3 separate regions of the Homo sapiens genome follow, and regions 1 and 3 are each linked to region 2. The links are contacts of gene promoters, found by promoter capture Hi-C in blood cells and fetal thymus (Javierre and others, 2016). All regions are on one chromosome and are shown on one strand. Each heading gives the region's core, a stretch centred on a gene start or on the middle of the fragment in contact. The rest is flanking DNA. Distances are from core to core; before and after follow the strand shown. Region 1 overlaps SDHB (succinate dehydrogenase complex iron sulfur subunit B). Region 2 holds the start of PADI4 (peptidyl arginine deiminase 4). Region 3 overlaps ATP13A2 (ATPase cation transporting 13A2).

What was found. The method cuts DNA at HindIII sites, captures the fragments that hold promoters and counts their contacts. A CHiCAGO score of 5 or more calls a contact.
Region 1: a contact is called between a fragment that was not itself captured here and the fragment with the promoter of PADI4 in region 2, in 1 of 17 cell types (neutrophils). The highest score is 9.7, in neutrophils.
Region 3: a contact is called between a fragment that was not itself captured here and the fragment with the promoter of PADI4 in region 2, in 1 of 17 cell types (neutrophils). The highest score is 6.5, in neutrophils.

The regions. Positions count from the first base shown.
Region 1 is chr1:17,034,417-17,039,084 of GRCh38, forward strand. The region is part of intron 2 of SDHB (succinate dehydrogenase complex iron sulfur subunit B); the gene reads right to left. Among named protein-coding and RNA genes, the nearest start is that of SDHB, 17 kb to the right of the region's middle. The HindIII fragment of the contact is 3,780 bases long and covers 336-4,115 here.
Region 2 is chr1:17,305,919-17,310,503 of GRCh38, forward strand. It overlaps PADI4 (peptidyl arginine deiminase 4), which reads left to right and starts at 2,279. Exons shown (of 16, transcript NM_012387.3): 1 at 2,279-2,396. The coding sequence starts at 2,305. The HindIII fragment of the contact is 10,543 bases long and covers 1-2,686 here.
Region 3 is chr1:17,004,799-17,009,312 of GRCh38, forward strand. ATP13A2 (ATPase cation transporting 13A2) reads right to left here. Exons shown (of 29, transcript NM_022089.4): 2 at 886-980; 3 at 576-758; 4 at 216-274; 5 at 1-23. Among named protein-coding and RNA genes, the nearest start is that of ATP13A2, 4.9 kb to the right of the region's middle. The HindIII fragment of the contact is 8,825 bases long and covers 1-4,514 here.

The DNA.
Region 1 (4,668 bases), core at 976-3,475, 270 kb before region 2:
GGGATTATGGGTGTGAGGCAATGGTGCGATCTCGGCTCACTGCAACCTCTACCTTCCGGGTTCAAGCGATTCTCCTGCCTCAGCCTCCCGAGTAGCTGGGATTACAGGTGCATGCCACCACACCCGGCAAATTTTTGTATTTTTAGTAGAGATAGGTTTTCCCATGTTGGCCAGGCTGGTCTCAAACTCCTGACCTCAAGTGATCCACCTGCCTCAGCCTTCCCAAATGCTGGGATTACAGGTGTGAGCGACTGCGTCTGGCCCATTATCTGTATTTGTATCAGCACTATGTAGACGTCCTTTCTGCTGGACCTCTGCTAACACTGGGAATTGGAAGCTTTAAAAACCTTTGCTATTCTGATACTGGAGAAGTGTTATTGTTTTCAGTGTTTTAAATCGAGACTTTTGAATACTACATAGGTTGAATGTTTGTCATAAATTTACTAATTTTTCTTTATTTCCCAATTATTTATTGAACATTTACTCTGCCAGGTTCTGTTCTAGATGCTGGGGATGTAGCAGAGAATAAAAGAGACGAATACCACCTGCCCGCACAAAGCTCTGTTCCAGAGGACTCATTCTAGAGACTCAGTCTGTCCACATTCTTTGCCTCTGTTTACCAGGGTCTTGGAAATTCTTTTTCATGATCTGAGGCTCTTATATATTATATCTGTTGCCATTTCTGCTTCCTCCCTCACTGCCAATAGTAATGTGCTATTTGACTTCTAATTTTGGTAACAGAATTTTAAACATACATGAGTTAAATGTTTACATTAATAAAGGTGGCTATTCTTTCTTTTATAACATTATCTATCACTTTTAAGCCTAAACAGACCACTGCCCTTCCTGAGGTCTGATAAATACTTTACATTTTTTTCTACTTAAAAAAAATTTTAAGTTACTCCCCTAAAACTGCAAAAACTGTATCAGTTGTCCCAAATCACTGACTAAATCCTCTTTTGCTTCTTATTTGTAATACCTTTCTCCCATATTTAATACTGGGAACTTAGATAAAATTGAGTCTGTTTTGTTGCTACATTTTTATTCTAATGATCTGCCTGTTCTTGTCCTAGCATATTTTAAATGACAACAACATCTTTGTTTTTTTTACATTACAAAGGCTAATATTTGCAGCCTATAAAAATTTCAAATTGGCCAGGTGGGTGGCTCACGCCTGTAATCCCAGCACTTTGGGAGGCACTTTGGGAGGCCTTGGCGGGTGGATCATGAGGTCAGGAGATTGAGACCATCCTGGCTAACGTGGTGAAACCGTCTCTACTAAAAATACAAAAAATTAGCTGGGTGTGGTTGCACGTGCCTGTAGTCCCAATTACTTGGGAGGCTGAGGCAGGAAAATTGCTTGAACCCCAGAGGCGGAGGTTGCAGTGAGCCGAGACCGCACCACTGCACTCCAGCCTGGGAGACAGAGCGAGACTGTCTCAAAAAAATAAATAAATAAATAGATAAATAAATAAATAAATTCAAATCAAAGGTAAAAAGTAATCCTGCAGATCATACTGGGACAGAGAAAAATATTAAAAAGTCAAAGTCCTCTCTTTAAGCTGTTTCATGCTAAATTTCCTAATAGGTAGGGCTCATTAAAGAGTACAACATAAATTTTCTCAGATTTTACATAGATACCAAAATTGTTTGATATTCTGGGTCCCTTGCATTTCTATAAGATTTTTAGAATCAACTTGTCAACTTCTGCAGAAAAGGCAGGTGGGATTTTGATGGGGATTGCAATGAATCTGGAAATCAATTTGGAGACCACTGCCTCCTTAACAACATTAAGTCTTCCAACCCACAAACAGGGCATGTCTTTCCATTTATTTATGTCTTCTTAAATTTCTTTCAACAATGTTTTACAGTTTTTCAGCATATAAGTCTTTTACTTATTTGATTTTTGAGACAGGATCTCACTCTGTCGCCCAGGCTGGATGGAGTGCAGTGTTGTGATCACAGCTCACTGCAGGTTTGACCTCCCAGGCTCAAGTGATTCTCCCACCTCAGCCTCCAAGTAGCTGGGACTATAGGCACAGGAAGGTCATCAAGCCCAGCTAACTTTTTTTGTAGAGATGGGGTTTTGTCTTATTGCCCATATAATTTGTTCCTAAGAATTTCTTTTTTGATGCTGTTATATGGAAAATAGTTTTTAAATTTCATTTTAGGATTGTTCATTGCTAGTGTATAGAAATCCAATTTTTGTTTTTTTAACAGTACTTACAGGCTTTTTTCTAGGTAAGCAGGGTTTTACATATATAAATATAAATATTTATATAAATATGAATATATAAATATAAATATTTATATAAATATGAATATATAAATATAAATATTTATATAAATATGAATATATAAATATAAATACATATATAAATATATATGTATACACACACACACACACATTTTTTCTGTAGAGACTAAGTCTTGCTATTGTTGCCCAGGCTGGTCTCAAAACTCCTGGCCTCAAGCAATCCTCCTGCCTTGGCCTCACAAAGAAAGTGCTAGTATTACAAGTGTGAGCCACCATGCCTAGCCTAGAAAAATACATTTATCTGCTAATATCTGCTACACGCCAGTATTTTCAGAAAAAGAATTATGCTGTTGTGAAAATGAAAGAATATAGCTATTTTTTGTGTGTGTATACATAGCTACAAAGTAGGGTTTCAGAGTCGGATTAGAAGGAAATAGAACTATAATTAAAACATGGTACAATATAAAATGAAGACTGACAGACATAGGTTGAAATAAACATGGACAAATTATGCATAATAAAAAACTAAACTACATTTGATTTCTGTATACCAGTTTTGTGTCCTCCAACCTTGCTGAATTTGTTCATTAGTTCTAATAGTTCCTAGGGGGCAATGTCTTATATTTTCTTTTCTTTTTTTTTTTTGAGACAGCGTCTCCCTCTGTTGCCCAGGCTGGAGTGTAGGGCATGGAATCATGGCTCACTGCAGCCTCGACCTCCTGGGTTCAAGTGATCCTCCCACCCCACCCTCCCAAGTAGCTCGGACTACAGGAGTGTGCCACCACACCTGGCAAATTTTTTGAGACACAGTCTTGCTCTGTTGCCCAGGCTGGAGTGCAGTGGCGTGATCTTGGCTCACTGCAACCTCTGCCACCTAGGTTCAAGCAATTCTTGTGCCTTAGCCTTCCAAGAAGCTGGGATTACAGGTGTGTGCTACCATGCCTGGCTAATTTTTGTATTTTTAGTAGAGACAGGGTTTTGCCATGTTGTCCAGGGTGGTCTTGAACTCCTGGACTCAAGTCATCTGCCTGCTTTGGCCTCTCAGAATGTTGGGATTACAGGCGTGAGCCATCGCACCCAGCCTGGCTAATTTTTTGTTTGCTTTTTTGTAGAGATGGGGGTCTCATTTTGTTGCCCAGGCTGGTCTCCAACTCCCAGGCTCAAGCAATTCTCCTGCTTCAGGCCAGGCACAGTGGCTCACACCTGCAATCCCAGCACTTTGGGAGGCCGAGGTGGGCAGATCACCTGAGGTCAGGAGTTCGAGACCAGCCTGACCAACACGCAGAAACCCCATCTCCACCAAAAATACAAAAGAATTAGCTGGGCGTAGTGGCAGGCGCCTGTAATCCCAGCTACTTGGGAAGCTGAGACAGGAGAATTGCTTGAATCCGGGAGGCGGAGGTTGCGGTGAGCCAAGATTGTGCCATTGCACTCCAGCCTGGGCAACAAGAGCGAAAACTCTGTCTCAAAAAAAAAAAATTCTCCTGCTTCAGCCTTCCAAAATGCTGGGATTATAAGCACAAGCCACTGAGCCTGCCCAAGGTTTTGTGTAAAAGATTATGTTATCTATGAGAGACAGTTTTACTTCTTCTTTTCCAATTTCCTTTTCTTTCTTTTTCTCACCCAATTTCCCTGGCTAAGCCTCCAGTAAAATTTTGAATGGCTGATGTTAGCATAAATAGAATTATCTGTAGCCATTGAAATACACACACACACAAATAGTATTTTGCATATTGACCTTACATCCTGCAGCCTTGCTAAATTTACTTATTCTTTTAGTTTTGTAGACTCCCTGAAATTTTCTATGTAAACAATCATGTTACCTGTGACTACAGTTAGTTTAATTTCTTCCTTTCCAAGCTTACATATGCCTTCTACTTCTTTTACTTGCCTTTCATGGACTGGCTAGAACCTTCAGTACAATGTTGAACTCAAATACAGAGTGGACAACCTTCCTTATTCCTGATCTTATGGGGAAAGTGTTCAATATCTCACAATAAAGTATGCTATTAGCTGTGATTTTCACAGTCTTCATCTGGCTGATGAAGTTCCCTTCTTTTCCTATTAGCAGTTATTATTTAAGTAAAATTAGGACTATTCCTTTTAATTCAAATTCCTTATAGTTTTATTTATTTATTCTGTTAAAATATACACACTGTGAAAATTATTTAACCCATTATCATTTTTAAAAATCATGAATGAGTGTTGAATCTTGCCAAATGCTTTTCTGCATATATTAAAGCAATCAAATGGGTTTTCCCCCTTTATTCTGTTAATATGGTGAATCACATTGATTTTCAAATGTATTTCTTTATTTTTTCTTGCGCTTTTTCTTGCACTTAAAACAGCATATGGTTGGGTTTTGCTTTTTTTAAAAAAATCTATTCTGACACTGTTGGCTTTTTAACTGG
Region 2 (4,585 bases), core at 1,029-3,528:
ATGCCCGAAAGGCCCTATATGATCGCACCCCGCCCTGGGCTGCTCTCCCCCTCCCTCACTGCATTTCAGCCACACTGGCCTCTTTGCTCTTTCTTGAACCCGCCAGGCATGTCCCTGCCTCAGGGCCTTTGTACCGATTGCACTGGCTGTTCTCTTGACTTGGAACCTTCTCCCTGTGTTCCTGGTAGCCTTTACCCTGTCCTTTTTCCTTTTTCTACCCCACTAACATACGATAGAATCCACTTACTGCATTTATTGCTTACTGGCTGTCTCTCTCCCAACAAAAACAAACAAACAAAAAGGCTCTATGAAGGCAGGATTTTTGTCCACTTTGTTCACAGCGTATCCACGGTGCCTGGAACAGTGCCTGGCCATCAATAGGCACTCAGTCAGTATTTGTTGAATTAACAAAACTGCTTTGGGGCTCGTCCTCTTTGTGGCTCGTTCACAGCAAATTTAAACCCCAAACTGCTGAAGAAAATAAGAAAGAAAAGAAGGAACAGAAGAAAACAACCTCAAGAGACCTAAGACTTGGGGTAGAGGCCAGCCCTCCCTCTGATTTGCTGTGTGACCGTGGGCAGGTCCCACTCCCTTTCTGTGCTTCAGTCTCCCCTTCTGCAAAACGAGGACTGGATTGGGTGTTCTCTAAGGGCCCTCCCAACTCTAACAATGGACAGCTCCCTCCTGCCACTTCCCAGTAGAAGCTCAAACTAGTTCTAATCATGCGGTCAGCCAGAGAAATTGGGTTTATTAACACTGTGTGCAGGCAGTCATGTAGATGCGTCAGAACGTCGGACCTGGCCACATCATCATCTGCTGGTACAGAAGATAAATTTTGAGCCCAGAGAAGGTGGTCTGAATCCAGATCCCCACTGTAGGGCTTATGAGACCTTGGGGGTCTCACTCAATCTCTCTAAGTCTTTGTGGTCTCATCTACACATGGGCATCCTGATAGGACGCACTCCATAGGGATGTTGAGATGAGGCAGGATTTGAACTAAAGCCTGTTTGATCCCACAGCCTGACTCTGAATTAATGAGGCAAATTCTTTGCTTCAAAGCCAAAGCAAGCAAACAAAAAACAAACGCAAGATATCCAACCCACGAAACGCTCTATGTTCACGCCAGACTCCCATGCATGCACCCTTTGAGTGCTCCTTGTTGGGACCCATCCACCACCCCCCAGTTGCCTCATTAAAGGCAGAGCCTGGCACCAATGGCCCAGGTGCAACCACAGCTCTGAGGCCACATGGGCATCCCCCTGGCAGGCGTGGCCCACACCTGCACTGTCTGGTCTGACACCCAGAGGCCCTGGCAAGAGGCAGGTATCCTGGAGCATGCAGAGAACATCAACTTCCATGCCAGGAAGCTCATCTTCTCTTCCCAGCTCTGCCGCATTCTAGCTCTGGCACCTTGGGCAAGAGCTAGTCACTTTTACTCTCTGAGCCTCAATTTTCCTTCTGTAAAATGGGTTGTAATAATAAGCCCATATACACCTTGTATTGTAGCGAGATGTAGCTGTGATACAGTCTGGAAAGCACGTGTCATATAGACAGGCAGCTAATGAATCTCACACTCTGGAACTGGACACCTTTGGTTCCAATTCTGGCCCTACCACTCTCGAGCTGTGGAAGAACTGCACCTCTGTTTTCTCCTCTGTAAAATGGGTATAATAATGGCACCAACCTCAGAGGGCTGCTGTGAGGGTGAAATAAGGGGATAATGGTATGATCTAGTTCACGGGTTTGTCGTAATGAGCTATTCTATGTGAAGTGCAGGAAAACGTGCCTGGCATAGAGAATGTGAGCTGTCATGTGGGTGGCCCAGGTGGAGAGACTTGTCCCAAGCCTGGTTGGTCTTTGAACGTGTAGCCTGGCCTGTGACTGCTTACCTAAAATCTCCCCGCTTTTCCCACCTTCTCCTCTCTGATATGCCTGTTTGACATAGGTGAGATTGGATAGATCAAGGTGTTCAGGGCCTCTAGGCAGGGATGGGACTGTGGGCATGAGGACCAGGACCCAACCCCTCAGCCCCACTCTCCACCCCAGGCTTTCTGAGCCATCCATCCTTCCCAAGAAACTGACAGAGCCACCCTGCCACTGGTACCAGCATTGACACCCATCTAGAGGTCCGAGGGGCAGCCCCAGGGCAGAGGAGATTTTGAGAGCCCACACCCCTGACCTGAGTGGGGAGGGGTTGAGCCTCTGGGCCACAGACCGCAGGTGCTGACTCATGGCCTCTGCTGGGCGATATAAAGGAACCAGCCCAGGGGCTTCCTACAGCCAGAGGGACGAGCTAGCCCGACGATGGCCCAGGGGACATTGATCCGTGTGACCCCAGAGCAGCCCACCCATGCCGTGTGTGTGCTGGGCACCTTGACTCAGCTTGACATCTGCAGGTAAGAGGGGGGCCTTCTGGGGTTTTGGAGGCAGGTCAGGAGATGCTGGATGACCCAGTTCTACTGACACAGGAGCATGTGTTTGGCCCAGGCTCTAGGCTCCAGCCTCTGCAGCCACTGCCAGGGGAGTAGCTGGAGAGAGAAGACCCCAGCAGCCCTGGGAAGTGCCAGTCTCATGGCTGTGGGTTCTTTGCCATGTACAAGTGCAAATTCCCCAGGAACACACGACAGATAAATTATTATGGGGCAAACCAGGCCATCCATCTCCCTGTCTTCATCGAGGCAACAGAAGCTTACAGAGAGTCTGTGACTTGCTCAAGGTCACACAGCACGTGTGCCCTGGAAGTAAGGTTAGCCCCTGGGCCTCCTGGTTCACAGCACAGTTTGTTACCCCACATCTCTTAGCTAAGCCTCCCTCAGTGGGTGCATAATAGCGTGGGTGGGGATGGCGAAACGGGGCTCTGTGGCGGCAGAGACTGAGGTAGGAAGCCTGGACCTGCTGCTGGCTAGCAAGGAGGCCTTGGGCAACTGAGCCTCAGTTGCCTCATCTGTGAAATGGGGATAATACTCACATCATGGGCTGGTTATAGGAATTCAATGTGAAAAAATGTGCAGATGTTGGCTGAGTACTTAGCACAGTGGTGGGCCCATCCTTGGTAGTTTTTATTTACTCATTTAACAAATGCTGAGTGCCATGCTCTGTGGCAGGGTCTGGGTTAAACAAGAGAGTTGAGGAATGCTCTCGGGGAGTGTGCAGGGTCATTGTTGTTATTGTAGAACAGGAATTAAAAGAAATTTTAAAACGTGTAAGCAAAAACTCAGTTCTATGTTAAAAAAAAAAAAAACAATTTTCCCTGGAAAAAAAAAAAAAAAAGAGCTGGAGTCCCTTAAAAATTAACTGCCTGTTTTTTTGTGGCTAGTGAGCCTTATTGCTCCTCTTTTTCCAGGCATTGTAAAGACCCTGTTTCTCCAGCTGTGCAGCTGCAAGGTCACTAGACAGATAAACTCAAGCTGTAAAAATTTTTTTCCTTAAAAAGTAAAAAATAATATAATGCATGTCTCAATTAAATAACTGTCTTTGTTTCTTGCCTCTATAATATGCTTCCCCCTGCACAGATCTACCCCCGCCCCATGAAATGCTTAAAAGATAACTTAACTCTTTGTTCAGGGCTCAGTCTTTTGAAATGTTAGCCTGACTGAGCCAGTGAATCTAAATAATAAATCCTCCTCAACCCCTCGGTCTCTCTGATTCCTAAATTATCCTGCAACAATTGCTGTTGTCAGGAATAGGAGTGGTTGCCCCTGGCTTCCCCATCCCAGTCTGGGCATCGGTGGCCCTAGAATGGTGCCCACAGGAGTGCCGGGGACATTTCTTTGCTACTGCCTGAGCCCCAGCAGCCAGAGAACAGCAGGAAATGTCGGGATGGTCTCCCAGGGCCACATGGTGGAGGCAGGAGACCAAGAAGTTGGGGAGAAAAGGAAAAAGAAAATCACCTGACATCATCTGAGGCGCCCCCAACTCCTCTGAGAATGGGTGTGAAGGAAATGACAGGAGCTGAAGCTAGCCCAGGGCCTCTCCCAGCATGCCCAGGCTAGCCCTCTACCCAGCGTCCATGAGTAGTAATCAAGATCACAAGTGCTTCCTCTGGCCCTAGAGAGGTGGGTGGACAGCTGGTCAGTGTTGGGCAGAGAGGAAGGCACTGCCCATTTCTCCCAGAAAGGATGGGGACTCCGGAGTTCACAGGGGCCTCTAAATCCTTCTTTTCTCCTCCTTCAGCCACACGTTGAGCCTGTCACTCTATCCCCTGAACATCTCACGTAACAATGGCTAATATTTACATCACACTTCCTACATTCAACTCATTCAATGGCCTTGGGAGGCAGGTAATGTTGTTATTCCCATTTTACAAAAGAGGAAACAGAGGCTCCAAGAAGTTAAGTAACCCACCTCAAGCCACACAGCTAATAAGTAGGGGAGCCAGGACTCAACCCAGGCAGCCTGACTCTAGGACCCTCCATTCTCCCCATGGGTCTCCGTTCCAGACCTTCCTGTCACTTCTTATCTGTTCTTAACATAGCCCCAGACAGCGCCTCCCTCCCATCTCCTGAGCAGCCATCGGCCTCTTCCTGAACCACACAGGTGGGAGGGCCACTCCCTCCTCACCTCCGCCCCTCATATTCATGCCTCC
Region 3 (4,514 bases), core at 1-2,500, 300 kb before region 2:
GGGACTGTGGGGACGGCTCCAGGCTGGGGAAGCAGGTGAGGGTTACTCTCGAGCTCTGGGAGCTGCCCTGGCACCTCCCTGTGCTCACAGAGCCATCTTCCCTCCCTAGGATGGGAGGCGCCAGAGTCAGCCTTTATGGGGGGGCCGAGGGTTGGGGAAGTTGGGGAGGCCAGGGTAGCAGGGGCTTCTGGGAAGGGGCAATGGGGCTGCCTCACCTGCCCTCGCCGATGGCCTCAGTCTGCACCTGGACAGTGAAGAGCTGCCAGGAACTATCCTGGAACACAGAGGTATGGACTCAGTCTCAGAAGAGTCCCCTCCCCTCCCAGGCCCTGTCCTACAGCCAGGCGGCCCCTGCTGGAGAAGGCAGAAATCAAGGCTATGGAGAGCCCTCCAGAAACCACCCGACCCGTCCCTTCTGCCCAATGCTCAGATGGGAAAGCTGAGGTCCAGAGAAGAGCGGGACCTGCCTAATGTCCCATGGAAAGTCAGTGGCCGGGTTGGCACCCAAGCATCCTCCACCCCCGACCCTGACCCTCACTGCGCTTCTCTAGCCCCAGGCTCAGCCTGACTCTCACCTCTTTGTCTCTTATTTCGATAACGAGTGTTTCGGCGTGGGCCAGGTTGCAGGGCCGGAGCCGCAGCCGCACCCCCCACAGGGGCTTCCAACGGAAGAGCAGCAAAGGGATCCCAGCCATCATCCAGACCACGACGTGATAGCCGATGACCCTCCATGGACTGCCACAGTAGCCGCTGAGCCTCTGCGAACGCAGCGAGAGAGGGCCCAGGTCGGGGTGGGAACGGGGCTGGAGTAGGAAGTTGGGGTGTCTGGGTGGGCCTGGGCATTCACCCCCTGCAGCTTTTCCCCACCCCACTCTGCCCACTTACCACGGATGAAACTGAGGAGCTGAGGGGATCTATTGATGTCCCTATCGTCAGGGTCCCATAACCGGTGGGCGTGCTGCCCACGAGAGGGCTGCTGTCTGTGGACAGAAAAGAGAAAGGTCATTTGGGGAGGCACCTTCTCCTCTTGCTTCCTTAAAAACAATAAACATCAGCCTGGGCGCGGTGGCTCACGCCTGTAATCCCAGCACTTTGGGAGGCCGAGGCGGGTGGATCACCTGAGGTTAGAAGTTCGAGATCAACCTGGCTAACATGGTGAAACCCATCTCTACTAAAAATAAAAAAAATTAGCCGGGCGTGGCAGCGCGTGCCTGTAATCTCAGCTACTCAGGAGGCTGAGGCAGGGGAATCACTTGAACCTGGGAGGTAGAGGTTGCAGTGAGGCAAGATCACACCACTGCACCCCTGCCTGAGCAACAGAGTGAGACTCCATCTCAAAAAACTAAACAAAACAAAACACAAAACAGTAAGCACCTGGTCTGACAGAGCCCAAAGCTCATGTCTTCCTGTGTCCTTTATCTGGCTCTTCTTTCCGTCGGTTCTTACTTACCGTATCTTTTTTTTTTTTTTGAGACGGAGTGTCACTCTGTCACCCAGGCTGGAGTGCAGTCACTTGATCTCAGCTCACTGCAACCTTTGCCTCCCAGGTTCAAGCGATTCTCCTGCCTCAGCCTCCCGAGTAGCTGGGATTATAGGCATGCACCACCATGCCCAGCTAATTTTTGTATTTTTAGTAGAGATGGGGTTTCACCATGTTGGCCAGGCTGGTCTCGAACTCCTGACCTCAAGTGATCTGCCCACTTTGGCCTCCCAAAGTGCTGGGATTACAGGCATGAGCCACCGTGCTTGGCCAGTAGTGTCTTGTTTCCTTGCGTGTGTCGGTCTTTCTGCTGGGTATGGCCCAGAATTGGAGAATGGGGCCTGGACAGTGCCCCAAGCCCCCATGGTGCTCGTGCATCCAGCCATTAGCTTCCTTGGAGCTCTGGGTCTCACTTTTCTATCCTCATCCAGTCCCCACCCTGAGGGCAGGGGTCAGGGATGCTTATCTTCATTCCATGCCCGTGCCCAGCCCAGGTCTGGCAGTGAGGAGATGCAAAGTCAAGTCTGGACTAATAAACGGTCAGCCCTGCAGGCCTATCTTTACAGATGGGTAAACTGAGACTTGGGGAATGGTATCAGGTGGTTCTATTGCAGATATTCTTTTTTTTTTGAGATGAAGTCTTGCTCTGTCGCCCAGTCTGGAATACAATGGCATGATCTCGGCTCACTACAACCTCTGCCTCCCAGGTTCAAGCGATTATCCTGCCTCAGCCTCCCGAGTAGCTGGGATTACAGGCGCCCAGCTAAGTTTTGTATTTTCAGTAGAGACGGGGTTTCACCATGCTGGTCAGGGTGGTCTCAAACTGCCGACCTCAGGTGATCCACCCGCCTTGCCTCCCTGAGTGCTGGGCTGACAGGCTGAGCCACTGCGCCCGGCCACAGACATTCTTTTCACTCCTTCCTCCTGTGCTGTAGAGCTGTGGCCTTAGCAGGGCAGGCAGCCAGTGGATGTTCTGGGGCTCCAGAGCGGGTAGAGCTCACCAGCCCCACCCTTGGACAGCCTCTGTCAGGGTTCATCTACGGTCCCAGACCACCTGGAGCACCTTTTACATATGCAGATGCCAGGGCCCTCCCCAGACTGGCTGGATCAACTCCTCAGGCCGGGGTAGGGATGGTGCTAGGCATCTGTGGTTTCACAAGAGCCTCTGAAAAAGCTCACTAAGCTGGAAAAGCTGGGCGGGTGCGGGGTAGGCTGCTGATTTTCTGGGCTCCCTCCTTCATCCCCCAATCTGAGCCCTTCTAAAATTTTTCCTTTTTTTTTTTTTTTTTTTGAGAGCGAGTCTCGCTCTGTCACCCAGGCTGGAGTGCAGTGGCGCGATCTCGGCTCACTGCAAGCTCTGCCTTCCGGGTTCACACCATTCTCCTGCCTCAGCCTCCCAAGTAGCTGGGACTACAGGCGCCCGCCACCACGCCCGGCTAATTTTTTGTATTTTTAGTAGAGATGGGGTTTCACCGTGTTAGCCAGGATGGTCTCGATCTCCCGACCTCGTGATCCGCCCGCCTCGGCCTCCCAAAGTGCTGGGATTACAGGCGTGAGCCACAGCGCCCGGCGAGCCCTTCTAAAATTTCTACCCAAAGAGTCCAGAGTGCCCCAGGCAGCTGCTGTGGGCACAGCACCCCCAGCCTCTGAGCAGCCCCATCCCCAAGCACTCTGGCTTCAACACTCCTAGAGGGCTCACTGTGCACAGGGTACATGGCTAACGTATCAACCCTGCCAGGTAACCTCGGTTGTGATGTCCTTTCATTCATTCATTCATTCATTTATTTACTTATCACTCTTGTAGCCTCGGCTTCCCAAAGTGCTGGGATTACAGGCGTGAGCCACCATGCCCAGCTTACAGTTTTCGTGTATAAGTCTTTTTTTGAGACAGTCTCTCTCTGTCACCCAGGCTGGAGTGCAGTGTTGCGATCATAGCTCACTGCAGCCTTGACCTCCCAGGCTCAAGCAATTCTCCCACCTCAGCCTCCAAATAGCTGGGACTACAGGCACAGGCCACCATGCCCAGCTAATTTTTTTTGTAGAGACAGGGTTTTGTCTTTTTGCCCATCATTTGTTCCTAAGAATTTCTTTTTTGATGCTGTGTTTCATACAGCAAGTGCCTTTGCCTCTCTGGGCTTCCATTTCTCATCTCTAGGATGATAGTCCCGAAGCATCCAGCACACAGGGAGGTAGAAGCATTTGAAGTTCCTGGGGGGGTTGCGTGGACAGGTGGGCAGGACCCGGCTCCCAGGTCAGGGGGGCGTGGCTTCTGCTTATCCATTTCCCAGGCTCTCTTCTCCTTTCACATCACCCTGTCTGAAGCCCTGGCTGTCCCACGGCTCCCTAGGCCCATTCAACAGTTGCTCCTTGTACCTTAAAACCCTCAGGCCGGCCGTGCGCAGTGGCTCACGCCTGTAATCCCAGCCCTTTGGGAGCCCAAGGGGGGCGGATCACGAGGTCAGGAGGTGGAGACTAGCTGAGACCATCCTGGCTAACACGGTGAAACCCTGTCTCTACTAAAAATATAAAAACCAAATTAGCCGGGCGTGGTGGCAGGCGCCTGTAGTCCCAGCTACTTGGGAGGCTGAGGCGGGAGAATGGTGTGAACCCAGAAGGTGGAGCTTGCAGTGAGCTGAGATCACGCCACTGCACTCCAGCCAGGGTGACAGAGCAAGACTCAAAAAAAAAAAAAAAAACCCTCAGGCCAACAGCCCAGCGGGCTCAGGGATGATGGGAAAGGAGCCATCCCTGCGGTGCTGATTTGATTTCCTCCCGCACCAACCCACAAGGTGGGCTCTCTTACCCAGTTTGACAAACGAGAGCACTGAGCCTCTGGGGCAGTTGCCCTCAGACTTGTCTCAAAGCTGGAACAGGGCTGGCCTTACTCCCAGGTCCTCTCTGCCCAGCACATCTACTCCTGACATTCCCCTCAGCATCAGGCTCAGATGGGTGTCACTGCCCTTACTGCTCACAGTACCTGCCATGTGCTCAGGGGTCAGGAAACACTGATTGACCGACTGACTGAATGAATGAA